2 separate regions of the Homo sapiens genome follow, and region 1 is linked to region 2. The links are contacts of gene promoters, found by promoter capture Hi-C in blood cells and fetal thymus (Javierre and others, 2016). All regions are on one chromosome and are shown on one strand. The core of a region is centred on a gene start or on the middle of the fragment in contact, and the rest is flanking DNA. Distances in the headings are between cores, read along the strand shown. Region 1 overlaps OSBP2 (oxysterol binding protein 2). Region 2 holds the start of LIMK2 (LIM domain kinase 2).

The links. Contacts are between HindIII fragments. The CHiCAGO score rates a contact against its expected background, and 5 or more counts as called.
Region 1: a fragment that was not itself captured here is called in contact with the fragment with the promoter of LIMK2 in region 2 in 1 of 17 cell types (naive CD4 T cells); the score reaches 5.3 in naive CD4 T cells.

What each region holds. Positions count from the first base shown.
Region 1 is chr22:30,755,553-30,762,656 of GRCh38, forward strand. The region is part of intron 2 of OSBP2 (oxysterol binding protein 2); the gene reads left to right. Among named protein-coding and RNA genes, the nearest start is that of MIR3200, 28 kb to the left of the region's middle. RefSeq lists a silencer at 1-119. The HindIII fragment of the contact is 7,351 bases long and covers 10-7,104 here.
Region 2 is chr22:31,210,086-31,217,130 of GRCh38, forward strand. LIMK2 (LIM domain kinase 2) reads left to right here and starts at 2,213. Exons shown (of 16, transcript NM_005569.4): 1 at 2,213-2,339. The coding sequence starts at 2,324. RefSeq lists enhancers at 1,754-1,933, 2,896-3,821 and a silencer at 1,914-2,313. The HindIII fragment of the contact is 1,589 bases long and covers 1,721-3,309 here.

The DNA of each region.
Region 1 (7,104 bases), core at 2,435-4,934, 450 kb before region 2:
ACTTCGGGAAGCTTTGTCTTATTTCCAGCTGCCATCTGGTGGCTGGATTGAGGCCCTTCTGAGGGCATGTTGAGTCAACCAGGGCTGGCTTGCTCACCTGTCTTTATAAGGTCCCCACAGGGTCATCAGAATGTGAGACCTCTGGGGAGAAGAGTCCAACCAGGAGAAGGAACTTTCACCTACGCAGCCCCCACCCTCCAAGAGGGGCAAACCTGGCCCAGGGACTGGTCGATTGTGCCCCTCTTCAGCGTTCCCCTCCCTGTGCCACTCATTCTTCCAAATCCTGGTGTCTTGGTGCCTCTGCTAGGATTGCACCCCACCCGTCTCAGCCCTCAGGTCCACCAGGGCCCTTGGCCATGGAGCTTGTCCTCAACCCCTGGGCCTCGTTCCCTGGTCGGCATGCTCTTGCATCTTCAGCTGTGCCTTAACGTGGAGCACCAGTCCCCACGCAGCCTGACCCCACTAGGCCCTGTCCACCTCTGCCCCCACATGGTCACCTCCAGACTCTGTGGGCTCTGGCTCAGTAATCTTAAAATCAGAAGCCCTGTTCTGGCCACCACAGCAGTTACCCTTCCAGTGCCCTTCCAGATCTGACTCCTCCAGGTGGCAGTTGCGTTTTTCTTTTCCTTTCTCACTTGGCCTCGCCCTGTGGTTCATCCCTGCTGGGGTGAGTTCTTCCTCTCTCTCCTGGTTGTCTGGCTTCCTTCACACCTGTTTGTCCTCTGTCTAACCATGGGGCAGCCCAGGCACTAGACAGGTTGGGCCCAAATCCAGACTGTGTCACTTATAAGGTGGGTCCCTCTGCCTCTGTCTCTTCACCCACAAAGTGTATGTAATGATAAAGACCTTTTAGGGGCCAGGCATGGTGTCTCACGCCTGTAACCCCAGCACTTTGACTTTGGGAGGCTGAGGTGGGCGGATCACGAGGTCAGGAGTTCCAGACCAGCCTGACCAATACGGTGAAACCCCGTCTCTAGTAAAAATACAAAAATTAGCTGGGCATGGTGGCGCACGCCTGTAGTCACAGCTACTCAGGAGGCTGAGGCAGAAGAATCGTTCGAACCCGGGAGGTGGAGTTTGCGGTGAGCAAAGATCATGCCGCTGCACTCCAGCTTGGACGACAGAGCGAGACTCCATTAAAAAAACAAAACAAACAAACAAAAAAAACCTCTTAGAGTTGTCAAGAGGGATAAATCAAATCATGCTACAAACTGCCCAGCAGTCACTGGAGTGTGGTGGCCACTCAGCTGACGGAAGTAACATTGTCAGTCTTTGGGTGATGACCTGTCAGTTCTGCACCTTCTACCTTCAGGCAGGGGTGATAGGGCCCTTTGCTGAGCACACGTACACATGCTATGCAGCCACGTTCTGCAGTGACCCTCCCAGCCATGCAGACAACACTCCTCAAACCCAGGGTATCTGCTGTGTGGTGACCCCTTCCAACCATGCAGACCACACTCCTCAAACGCAGGGTATCTGCTGTGCGTTGACACCTCCCAGCCAGGCAGACCACACTCCTCAAACCCAGAATATCTGCTGGCCTTGATCAGTACCTGTCCCCTTTGTGTGAGTCCCTCACCACCTTTCTCTCCCATCTCCCAGGGACGTCCTTGCTACTCTGTATATTTTCACTGCTGCCTCCTGCCACACTGCAAAAGATCTTGCTTCCTCATGCATAGAACAAAACCAGATCCACAGCTGAGCCCCTCAGCTCTCTGCCATTACACGCTCCCTGCGTCCCCCCTGCCATATGAATCCCAAATGATTCCAGTGGAGACATTTCTCCCCTTTGAAGCAGTGCCAGCTTCAAAGGGTGATTTTCTCCCTCTTGCTGGGGGACTTGGTTTTATCGCTGTTTTCTTTTTCCTTTTCTTTTCTTTTTTTTTTGAGACAGAGTCTCTGTCGCCCAAGCTGGAGTACAATGGCATGATCTCGGCTCACTGCAACCTCCGCCTCCCGGGTTCAAGTGATTCTCCTGTCTCAGTCTCCCGAGTAGCTGGGTCTACAGGTGGGTGCCACCATACCTGGCTAATTTTTGTATTTTCGGTAGAGACAGGGTTCCACCATGTTGGCCAGGCTGGTCTCAAACTCCTGACCTCAAGTGGTCTGCCCGCCTCGGCCTCCCAAAGTGCTGGGATTACAGACATGAGCCACTGCACCCAGCCTTATTGCTGTTTTGTCACTCCTGTAGCCTCAACCTCTCTCCTGGCCTCTTCCCACTGCATATGACCCACCACTCACTACTTTGAAACTGTACTAGCCAAGGTCTCAGGTCACTTTCCAGACCTGGCAGATGACTAAGAAGTGAACCTGGGTGTCACCTTGAGTCCTGCCCTCCCTGATCCCTCATGTGCAGCTTGTCAGCAGATCCTGTCAGTGCCAGACCTGAGCACTTTCACATCTGCCCACTGCCCTCCATCTGCCTGGCCTCCAACCCAGTTTCACTATCTGACCTCCCAGAGTCTGGACAGCAAGAGTGAGTCTTTTAAAATCCAATTCTGCTCAGTTCCAGTTCCAGGTAGGATTAAGTGAGAAGGTTTCACTCTGCAGCTATGAAACATGGACAGGGCCAGGCACAGTGGCTCATGCCTGTAATCCGTGCACTTTGGAAGCCTGAGGCAGGCCGATCACTTGAGGCCAGGAGTTCGAGACCGGCCTGGCCAACATGGTGAAACCCCATCTCTACTAAAAATACAAAAATTAGCCGGGTGTGGTGGCGCACGCTTGTAGTCCAGCTACTGGGGAGGCTGAGGTGTGATAATCACTTGATCCCGGGAGGAAGAGGTTGCAGTGAGCCGAGATGGCACCACTGCATTCCAGCCTGGGTGACAGAGCGAGACTCTGTCTCAAAAATAAAATAAAATAAAATGTGGACAGAATGCACAGAGCAGCTATTTGAGCACCCTGAAAATTAAGTAGCCACAAGCAGACTAGAGAAGACCAGAATCTGAGGTAACACCAAACAGGTGGTGAGGTTACAATTTTTTCCCTCCAGTATCTTCTAGAGTGGACTCAGGGGAGACCCAGAAGTGAGCAGACAGAGAAAACTCCTGGAGAAGCCCTCTAGTTCAGGCTCAAGGAGGAAAGGGTCCCCTGTCAGTGATAGCAGTGGCGATGAGAGGCCTGCAGGTACCAAAAACTCAGAGGAATCCATGCACACCAGTAGGAAGAGCTCTGGGCCCAAGAAGTGAGGGAACCCCTGTTCCATTTTTCTCTCACTCTTCCTACCACTTAGCCCCCGATATAGGTGTGGTGGTGGGAAGTGGGCAGCCAGAGGACTGAAACAGAGCCCAAGAGAACCAGAAAAAAACAGGAAATCACAGAAAGAGAACACCTTGGGAAAGTGACCCCATAACGTTGTTTTCATGAACTCCTGGCTTCACGTTCAAGCCGCACATGGATGGATCTGATCCTAAACAGCATACTAAAGATTTTGAGAACTGAACTTAAAGCTGCATGAATACCCACGTCCCTGTGGCCACTGGCTGGCACACATGTGGAACAGATCCAACTAGTACTGCAAAGGGCCGGGCGCAGTGTAACCTGGCACTTTGGGAAGCCGAGACAGGTGGATCACTTGAGGCCAGGAGTTCGAGACCAGCCTGGCCAACACGGTGAAACCCCGTCTCTACTAAAAATACAAAAATTAGCCAGGCGTGGTGGTGCACACCTGTAATCCCAGCTACTCGGGAGGCTGAGGCAGGAGAATCGCTTGAGCCTGGGAGGCAGAGCTTGCAGTGAGCCGAGATTGCACCACTGCACTCCAGAGCAAGACTCTGTCTCAAAAACAAAAACAAATAGTACTGCAAAGGCTTTGAAAATGGAACAAACAGTGAAACCACCACCCAGAGACGGCTGGTCACTACCTGTGGCCTTAACCCAACTTATTTGATAGACTGCTAAAATGAAAATATCAAATTACCAACATCAGGAATGAAATAAACAATTAATAGCACTAACAAACATAAAAGGACAATACTACAAAAACATAAAATAGATACATAATACATAAAAGGAATGCTACAGACAACTCTGCTGACAAATTTGACAACTTGGATGAAATGAACCAATTCTTCAAAAATCAAATTCTAACACTTGCCCAAGATCAAATCCATAAACTGAATAATCCTATAACTATTAAAGAAGTTGCATTCATAGTTTAAAACACTTCAAAAAAGAAGTCTTCAGGCCTACATGATTTCACAGGTAAATTTTATCAAATATTTGAAAAAAGAATAACACTATTTCCACACAATCTCTTCCAGAAAACAGAAGAGGAATGAGTAATTTCTTTTCTTTTTTAATTTTTCTTTTCTTTTTTTTTTGAGACAGTGTCTCGCTCTGTTGCCCAGGCTGGAGTGTGCAGTGGTGCAGTCTTGGCTCACTGCAACCTCTGCCTCCCAGGTTCAAGCAGTTCTCCTCCCTCAGCCTCCTTAGTAGCTGGGATTACAGGCATGTGCCACCACGCCCAGCTAATTTTTTTTTTTGTATTTTTAGTAGAGACAGGGTTTCACCATGTTGGCCAGGGTCATCCTGAACTACTGACATCAGGTGATCCGCCTGCCTTGGTCTCCCAAAGTGCTGGGATTACAGGCGTGAGCCACTGCACCCGGCTTTTTTTTTTTTTTTGAGACAGAGTCTTGCACTGTTGCCCAGGCTGGTCTCAAACTCCTGACCTCAAGTGATCTGCTCGCCTTGGCCTCCCAAAGTGCTAGGATTACAGGAGTGAGTAATTTCTAACTCATTTATAAGGACAGCATACCCTGATACCAAACTGAACAAAGATAGTGTAAGAAAAGAAAACTTCGGACCAATATTTCTCATGAGCATAGATGAAAACATCTTCAACAAAATATTAACAATTTGAAACCAGCAATACAATAGAATATTACACCATGATCAAGTGGATTTCATGCTAGGAGTGCAAGATGAGTGCAAGATAGGTGCAAGATAGGTTCCATGTTTGAAAATCAATAAATGGGGCTGGGGGCAGTGGCTCACACCTGTAATCCCAGCACTTTGGAAGGCCAATGCAGGCAGATCACTTGAAGTCAGGAGTTCAAGAGCAGCTTGGCCAACATGGTGAAACCCTGTCTCTACTGAAAATACAAAAATTAGCCAGGCATGGTGGTGCACACCTGTAGTCTCAGCTACTTAGGAGGCTGAGTCAGGAGAATCGCTTGAACCCTGGCAGGGCGGAGGTTGCAGTGAGTGGAGATCGCACCACTGCACCCCAGCCTGGGCAACAGAGCAAGACTCTGTCTCAAAAAAAGAAAAAAAAAAGAAAATCAATATAAATGGAATCATAATATTAACAATCTAAGAAAAACTACATTATAATATCAATTGATACAGAAAAAGGCATTTGACAAAATTTAACATTATTCATGGTAAAAACTCTCAGCAAACTAGGAGACTCCTCCACCTGATTAAGGGCATCTTCAAGAAACTGACATCATATGTAGTGATAGAAGACTGAATGCTTTACTTTCCGCCTAGGATCAGTAAAGTCAAGGATGTCCATGCTCACCCCTCATATTCATCCTAATACTAGCCAGTATTATAATGCAAGAAAAAAGAAGTCAAAGGCACTCAGATTGGGAAGAAAGAAACAGAGCTATCCCTATTTGCAAGCGACATGATGGCTGTGTAGAAAAATCCCAGGAAATCTACAAAAATATTTTTAGAGTGAGTTTAACAAGGTCACAGAATACAAGGTCAGTACATAAAGGCCAGTCATATTTCTGTGTATTAGCAATGAACAATTGGTAACAAAAAATTTTTAAAAATCACTTACAATGACCCCATGAAATACTTAGATATAATTATAACAAAACAAATATAGTATCTATATGTAAATAGTGTTAAATACTGATGAAATAGAAGACCAAAATAAATGGAGAGACATACAATGCTCATGGATCAGAAGATTCAAGAGAGTAAAGACGTCAGTTTTCCCTTGACTGATCAGTAGCTTGAATGCAATTCCAAAAAAAATCCCAGCAGGACATTTTCTCAGCATAGACAAACTTATTATACATTTATATGAAAAGATAAAGAAATTAGACTAGCTAAAGCAACTTTGAAAAAGAAGAATAAAGGTGGAGTAATTACTCAATTTTAAGACTTATCATAAAGAAACAAGACAGTGTGATGTTGGCAAACACTATATAGATTAATGAGATAGACATATACATTAATGGAACAGAATGGAGAGTCCAGAAATGGGCCCAGACAAATATGGTCAGATGGCTTTTGACAGAGGTGCAGAAACAATTTAATTGAGAAAGGTTAGTCTTTTCAACAAGTAGTGTTGGAACAATTGGACATCCATATGCAATAAAATGAATCTTGATTTATACTTCTTATTTATATAAAATTTAACTCAAAATGTAAACCATACAACTATAATACTCCCAGCAGTTTGGGAGGCCGAGGCGGGTGGATCACTTGAGCCCAGGAGTTCGAGACCAGCCTGGGCGATATGGCGAAACTCCATCTCTACCCAAAATAGAAATATTAGCCAGGCATAGTGGTGTGCAACTGTAGTCTCAGCTATTTGGAGGCTGAGTCAGGAGAGAATCATTTGAACCTGGGAAGCAGAGGTTTCAGTGAACCGAGATTACACTACTGCACTCCAGCCTGGGTGACAGAGTGAGACTCCATCTCAAAAAATAAAAAATAAAAAATAAAATAAAAATAAAATGCAATTTTGGGCCGGGCGCGGTGGCTCACGCCTGTAATCTCAGCACTTTGGGAGGCCAAGGCGGGTGGACCACGAGGTCAGGAGATCGAGACATCCTGGCTAACACGGTGTAACCCTGTCTCCACTGAAAATACAAAAAATTAGCCGGGCGTGGTGGCGGGCGCCTGTAGTCCCAGCTACTCGGGAGGCTGAGGCAGGGGGTGAACCCAGGAGGCAGAGCTTGCAGTGAGCTGAGATTGCACCACTGCACTCCAGCCTGGGCAACAGAGCAAGACTCCGTCTCCAAAAAAAAAAAATGCAATTTTGATTTATGTCTCTTCTCTGGCTCCTCTTGCGCTCTAGACCCATCCAGCTTCTGCTGTCTTCACTGGCACACCATCTTGCTGCCAGCCAGCGTG
Region 2 (7,045 bases), core at 963-3,462:
AGTTTGAAGCAAGTGGAAGTGACACTGGGCAAGTCTGGTTGGGTACCAGTGGACCAGTACCTTCAAGAGGGCAGAACCTTGAGTTGTTTTTCAAGGTCCAGGTTTCAGGATCCTAGGCTCAGAGAGTTGACTGTGAGGCGGCTGGCAGGATCTGGCCCTAGGGACTGACCAAGCTATGGCCAGTGAAACAAACTGTGGACAGGTAACCTGGGTGCTATTGAAACTCAGTTGGTCTACTCCCTGCCCAGGCTTTCTCTACCCTCCAGAAGTCCCCCTTGAGTTCACAAGTGATTTCTGGAATGTTCTTTGGGTCCATATTAAAAATATATCTCTTGGCTATAGCATTTCTATAGAAAGCTATTCCCTTCCATTACATTTTCAACTTGTGTTTCTCAGAGTCGCCTGAACTTCCCTGGGAGGAACTTGGGGGACTTGGCTATTCCCCAGCTCCCTGCTGGTGAAGACCATGAGGCTGGAGGTAGGAGGAAGTGGAATGTGAGAGAGAATGAGGAGGGAGAAGAGATAGACCTGGGTGCCTTGGTGTGGAACGGAGGGAGAGGGAAGACACCCAGGAGGTTTTGGTTCCCAGGATGCCAGTGCTTTGTTGCCTGGGAAAATACAGTGTTACATCTTTCTGTAGGAAGGATGGGGAAAGTCCCTGTCCCCTGTTTGCTAGCCATGAGGCAGCTTGTCAGGAGAGTCTCTGGATTCCTGTCACTTTAATTCAATACACAATCTTGTGTTTACTATAATGATTTCCTCAGAAACTACAAAACTGAGTACTGAAAAGAGTTCCCAGGAATTAACGGAAATGGGACAGAGCCCTCCTCCCCAGCACTTTGTGCACACTCAGGACATCGTGAGCCACCTGCCACACCCAGAAGAGAAAAATCTGACCGGCATCCGGTTTGAATTAGAGCAGGAAGGAAGAGAATTGTGCTCGCCTTTGTCTTTGCCTTTGCCTTTGCTTACCCAACTGCTGGGACCAGAGGCAGCTGGGTTGAACTTTGTCTTTGGTCAGGGGTGGGGGTGGAGGGGACAGAATCCATTTCCCTGGGCTCCATCCTCTTTCTGGTCATTTGGACATGTTTCCTGTGATCTAAATCTGATGTAAGGAAATGACAATTGTGAAAGACCCAGCGTGAGAGAATCTGATGGGAGGGTGGGTCATCAGGGACCAGCTGGCCTGGCTGATGATGTATTAATATCTTAATCACACAGAGGACCCCAATCTCCTTCCAAACCTAATGAGCGGAAGTGGTTCTCAAAGCTACTCAGCCAGCTAGCAGCTGCCATAACCCAGTCAGCTGTCCTAACTCTTAGTCCTGTAATCCCTCCTCCTCATAGAAGATTGTAAACTGGCAGCCCACAGGGCAAATCTAGTGGCCAGGTGTGTTTCATTTGGTCTACATGGCATTTTAAGAACTTTTTGATGCTATCAACATTTTTTAAAAGTGGCAAATTTCACCTAAATATCTGGATTTTTGGCATGTTTTGAAAGGTTGGAAGACCTGGGAATGGTAGGCCCATGTTCCTGCAGGGGAGTGCTCGTCTTCCAATGCGGCGCACAAGCTCCAGCGTCCTGCGCTAAACCTAATTGGCCTGGCTGAGGATCTGCTCCTGGAATGCTGGTTGGTCGCCTCCAACTGTCTTTGACTTAGAGATTATTTACTGTCAGCTTACTCATAGTGGCGCAGAGAAGTGGTTTCTCTGAGCTAGAAGCTTCTAAGAAAAGTCCATCCTCAAAGCTGTTTGTGGGATAGACCTGGCTCCTCCATTGTAATATTCCTGATTCCAAACACTACTGGAAAGAGCTCTGAACTGGCAGTTAGCAGGCCTGGGCTCCCATCCCGGCTCTCCTCCTAATGAGCGAAGCCATTTCAATGTAGTCGAACTTAGCCTCTGATCCTTAACTTTCCCTATCTGTAAATGAGGGCGACTAGATGGGTGCGGACTGTCATCCGTGTTGAGACTTCCGGCCCCCGCAGAATCAACCTTACCGGCGGGAGCACCTCGAGGGGACGCCGCTCGCACTAGGGGGCGCCAGGGCCGCTGCAGAGCCCGAGCCAGAGCCAGGGGGCGGGGCCGCGTCTCGGGAGCGAGGCCTGAGAGCGGCGGGGCGGGGCGTCGGCGGGCAGTCCCCTGTGCCAGGTGTGGTTTGGTCCTCCCAGGGCGCCGTAGGCGGTGCATCCCGTTCGCGCCTGGGGCTGTGGTCTTCCCGCGCCTGAGGCGGCGGCGGCAGGAGCTGAGGGGAGTTGTAGGGAACTGAGGGGAGCTGCTGTGTCCCCCGCCTCCTCCTCCCCATTTCCGCGCTCCCGGGACCATGTCCGCGCTGGCGGGTAAGGAAGGGCTGCTCCGCCCTGTCCCGCTGTTATCTCCGAAGTCCGGTTCCATGGCGCCTGAGGGAAACCGGCTGTCTCTCGGGGGTTTCGGGCTGGTTGGGTCCTCGTGGGTCCGAGCTCCTCAGAAAAGCTGGGAGGCGGGGTGGGCACAGCGCTCCCCAGGCATTTGGAGGGTGGGACTCCGGGAATGGGGAGGCAGGGCATCCTGGAGACAGAGGGCTCCGAGGGGCAGGCGGGTTGGGAGGCTTCCCGCGAGTTGAGGTCCCGGGGAGGAAGAGATTCTGGGTCTGCCAGGAATCCAGCTTTTTGGAGGGACCTGGCGGCCGCAGACCCCCAAATTAACCCTTTTTAAGGAAGTTGAAAAGCATGGGGTTCTCTTATAGTGGAAGCTCTGTGGAATTTGAGGAGTACAGGATCCTCTAGGGTTCAGGACAATTAGGAGAGTTACCCCGGGTTCTGGGTTTTCTGAGGGAAATGGAGGATGTGACTTCCCTGCCAAGACCCAAGGCTTCTCGCGGGCATCTTGGTGTCTGGGAGTCCCCCGGGGCTGGGAGCTCTTTGCAGAAAATAAGGGAGTATGGAGCCCCTTGAGGTTTAGGACAGGACTAAGGGTAAGGAGAGATCGGACCATTCTTTTTGGGGCCCAAAGATCTCTGCTACAGGTGGCGAAAGTAGGCCACCTGGGGTTCTGAGTCCTCCTGTGGAAGCTCCCTTGGCCTCTCTAGACTAAAGACTAGAGGGATTCGGCCAAACACCTCCTGGAAGGAAGAGTTGTCTAAGGGTGAAGGGTAGCTTCAGAGTTGGGTTAGTTGCACCTGCAGTCACCTCCCCGCCACCTCACACACCACCCTGCAGCTTCCTGCCTTCCCCATCTTTTCCCCCAGCAGTAGGAACCTTCTGTCTCCTATGTTTCCCAGCCACCTGTGTGGGTGGCCCACCTCTGGGTCCACCAGGGTCAGCGTCCAGAAGCTTTGGAGAGGCGGCAAGAGGGTATTGAGGTGGAGGGGGGCTGGCTATCTGCCCCCTGCTTCCTGGCTTTCCGTCTGTGGACAGTCACTTCCTTCATCTTGAATGCAAGGACTGGGCTACCAGTGGGTCACTTCCTCAGCAAGGGAGCATGGGATTTTCTCTTCACTGGTGATAACAGACTTCTGGAGAGAGCTAGGGGTGGAAATGCCTAAAACAAATTTTTTTAGGCTGGGCGTGGTGGCTCATGCCTGTAATCCCAGCACTTTGGGAGGGCAGGGCAGGAGGATCGCTTGAGTCCAGGAGTTTGAGACCAGCTTGGGCAATATAGCGAGACTTCATCTCTTAAAAACAAAACCTTGTCTCTTAAAAAAGATTTTTTTTAAGCTTACAGAGTCCTTCAACTCGAATGATTTCCAGTAACTTTTTTTTTTTTTTCTTAGATGGAGTCTTGCTCTGTCGCCCAGGCTGGGGTGCAGTGGCACAATCTTGGCTCATTGCAACCTCTGCCTCCCGGGTTCAAGCGATTCTCCTACCTCAGCCTCCCGAGTAGCTGGGACAACAGGGGCCCGCCACCACGCCCGGCTAATTTTTTTGGTATATTTAGTAGAGATGGGGTTTCACCATATTGGCCAGGCTGGTCTTGAACTCCTGACCTTGTGATCCGCCCGCTTCGGCCTCCCAAAGTGCTGGGATTACAGGCGTGAGCCACCGCACCCGGCCGATTTCCAGTAACTTTTTCTAACAGCTGTGTAATATAGGTTGCCTGTCTTGAACCCTGTTTCTTAGAAAATTGTGAAAGGTTTCACAGTACAATAGTCTAGAGGCATAAAGCCTCTAGATGCATTAGTTTATGCATTCTTTCTTTCATTCAAAGAATATTTGTTGGATTCTTCTGTGTCATATACTTAGCCAAATGCTGAGTACAGTGGTGACATAGTTCTTGGCTTTGTGGTGCTTAATAATCCTAGAGATGGACAATAAATAATTGTAACAATTGCAATAAATGCTATAATAGTTAAGGTAAACAATTGAGATAAGTGCTGTAAGAGTGCACCAGGGGTGAGGGTTTTCTCTACTTTTTTTTCTGTTTTGGTAGAGACAGGGTCTCACTATGTTGCCCACGGTGGTTTCAAGCCATCCTCCTGTCTCAACCTCCCAAAGTGCTGGGATTACAGGCATGAACCACCATGCCCATCCTCTACTTTTTTTTTTTTTGAAGGGAATACTTTTCTTAAAAATGCAAGTTTATGCTGACCCCTGGAGATAAGTAAAAGTTAGCCTGGCAAAAAAAGCTCACAGAGCATTCCAGGCAGAGGAAACAGCATAAAAAGGCCCTAGGGTAGGAAGGCATGTAGTGCCTTTGAGCCTTGGAGCTGGGAGGTCAATATGGTTTTTTGATTTTTTTGTAGGGGGTGGGGAGGAAGAGTCTTGCTCTGTTGCCCATGCTGGAGTACAGTGGCGCGATCCAGACTCACTGTACCCTCCACCTCCCAGGTTCAAGTGAATCTTCTGCCTCAGCTTCCTGAGTAGCTGGGACTACAGGCAAGTGCTACCACGCCCAGCTAATTTTTTGTATTTTTATTAGAGACGGGGTCTTACCATGTTGCCCAGGCTGGTCTCAAACTCCTGAGCTCAGGCAGTCCACCCGCCTTGGACTCCCAAAATGCTAGGATTATAGGCGTGAGCCACCATGCCCAGCCAAGTATGGCTTTTTTATAGATGAGGAGACAGGCCCAGAAATGACAAGGTTCCATAGCTAAATGAGCAGTGGTGGTCAGAGTTCATATTTTCCAACTTCAAGTTTAGTGCTTCCTCCTCTCTGTAGCACAAAAAGCAGAATGAAGTTGACTATGGAGTCTGAGAAGGAAGTGGGACTTAAACTTTCACTTGTTATTCCATTCAAACCATGTTCTGAGACACCTCAGATTCCTCGTGTAACCGGAGAATCGATAACAAATCAAATATTTACTGAGTGCCTGTGATGTCTGTGGCACTGGGCAGGACCAAGTTTTACCTCTTATAAATTTTAACAGGTGTTAGAGCCAGGAGAGAGTTTTGAGATAATGTATAGTCTCCTTGTTTTACCTATGAAGAAACTGAGGCTCAGGGAAAAAAAACGGAGTTGTCCAGGGTCACTCAACTAGTGGTAGAGCCAGAACCAAGGTAAGACTTCTGCAGTGTTCTTTCCAGTATTCCAGGCTGCTTAAGACGTACAGGGTCTGGCACATGGTAAGCCCTTAATAAGTATTTGTGGAAATGAGTTATATATAGTTTGTGCCTCTGAGAAACTTACTGTCTAGTTAAGGTAATTAAGGCAAAAAACAAAACTGCCATGCTGATCAGTAGTGGGATTGCGCCTGTGAAAAGCCACCGCACTCCAGCCTGGGCTACATAGCAAGATCCCCATCTCTTAAAAAAAAGAAAAAAATTGATAAGACAAGCTGTTATAAGGCTTGCGTATGATAACATTATAGAATTTCAAAGATGAGGGAGAATTCTCTTCAAACATTTATTCCACAAATATATATTGAGTTCCTGCTATGTGCTAAACTCTTTTGGCCCCTAGGGATACAGCAAGGAACAAGATAGACCAAATCCCTTCCCTCATGTAGTGTATGTTCTGGTGGGGAGAGATAGACAGCAAGTAAATGTATGAACATCATATTCAGGGATAAATCCATTGAAGAGAAGTGAAGTAGGGTAAGGGGATAGAAGAAGTGAGTTGTCAGGGAATGTGTTTGGCATGTTTAAAGAATAGCAGGGTATCCAGGGTGGCCATCAGTTTTGGTTAGGGAATACTTCTTGAAGTGGGTAAGACTTGAGAAATCTTAAATAGGCTTAAAGAAGGTGGGGAAGATGATATCTTAGTAGGGAAGAAACTTTGGGAGTAGGAGACAAAAGTAGGCAAGTTTCAGGTCTTCATAAAGGGTAGCAAATACGTGTGGTAGAGGCAAGGATTGGGAGGTGGAAGATTCATAGGAAGTGGAAGGTACAGCTGAGAATGTGGGTGCAACCGGACTAGAGGGTTTAATGCCAGGCTGAGGATTTTGGAAGTTTCTAGTCTACAGTAGGCACCGTAGGTTTAGAGAAAGGAAGACTCATGATGTGGGCACAGGGCCACCAATCTGGAGGTGGGTATAGTGGGCCCTGAGATGAGGTCTTAGTGGTAGCAATGAAGAAGGCACCAACCAATAAAAGATGCCTCCTGACATAGGCAGGCCAGGGTGACTTGGATGGTCCTGGATATGTGATGGAGCAGGGTAGGGTCCAAAATGACCACAAGATTTCAAAACTAAATAAAAATCCGTCATGATCAAGGGGCTGTATTAGGCTTTCCACATTCATGGTGGATTTTCTGCATCTTCTGGAGGCTGAGCTGATTCCCAGAACAGGGCTGCCTTCTTGTTAGTGTAACCTTGAGCGGGTCTGATAGGGCCCACCATCACACACATCTCATTTCAATGAGAGGACCTGAAACTGTAGCAGTCTCTTACAAGTCTACCTTCTTTCTCATCCTTTATCTATTTTTATATAGTAGAAAGAATTAGACTATTTTACCTATTAATTTACATTGAATAGTAACTAGAACATGAAACCAATGCCTGGTTTCATTAAAGTGTTCCTTGAACATTCTTTCTGGGATTCTTTTTTATCATGTCTTTCTGCCTGTAATTTGTTTTGTCCAGGAAAGAAAGTCTAAAATGTAGTTAAAGACAGGCTTTGAGCCAGGTGCA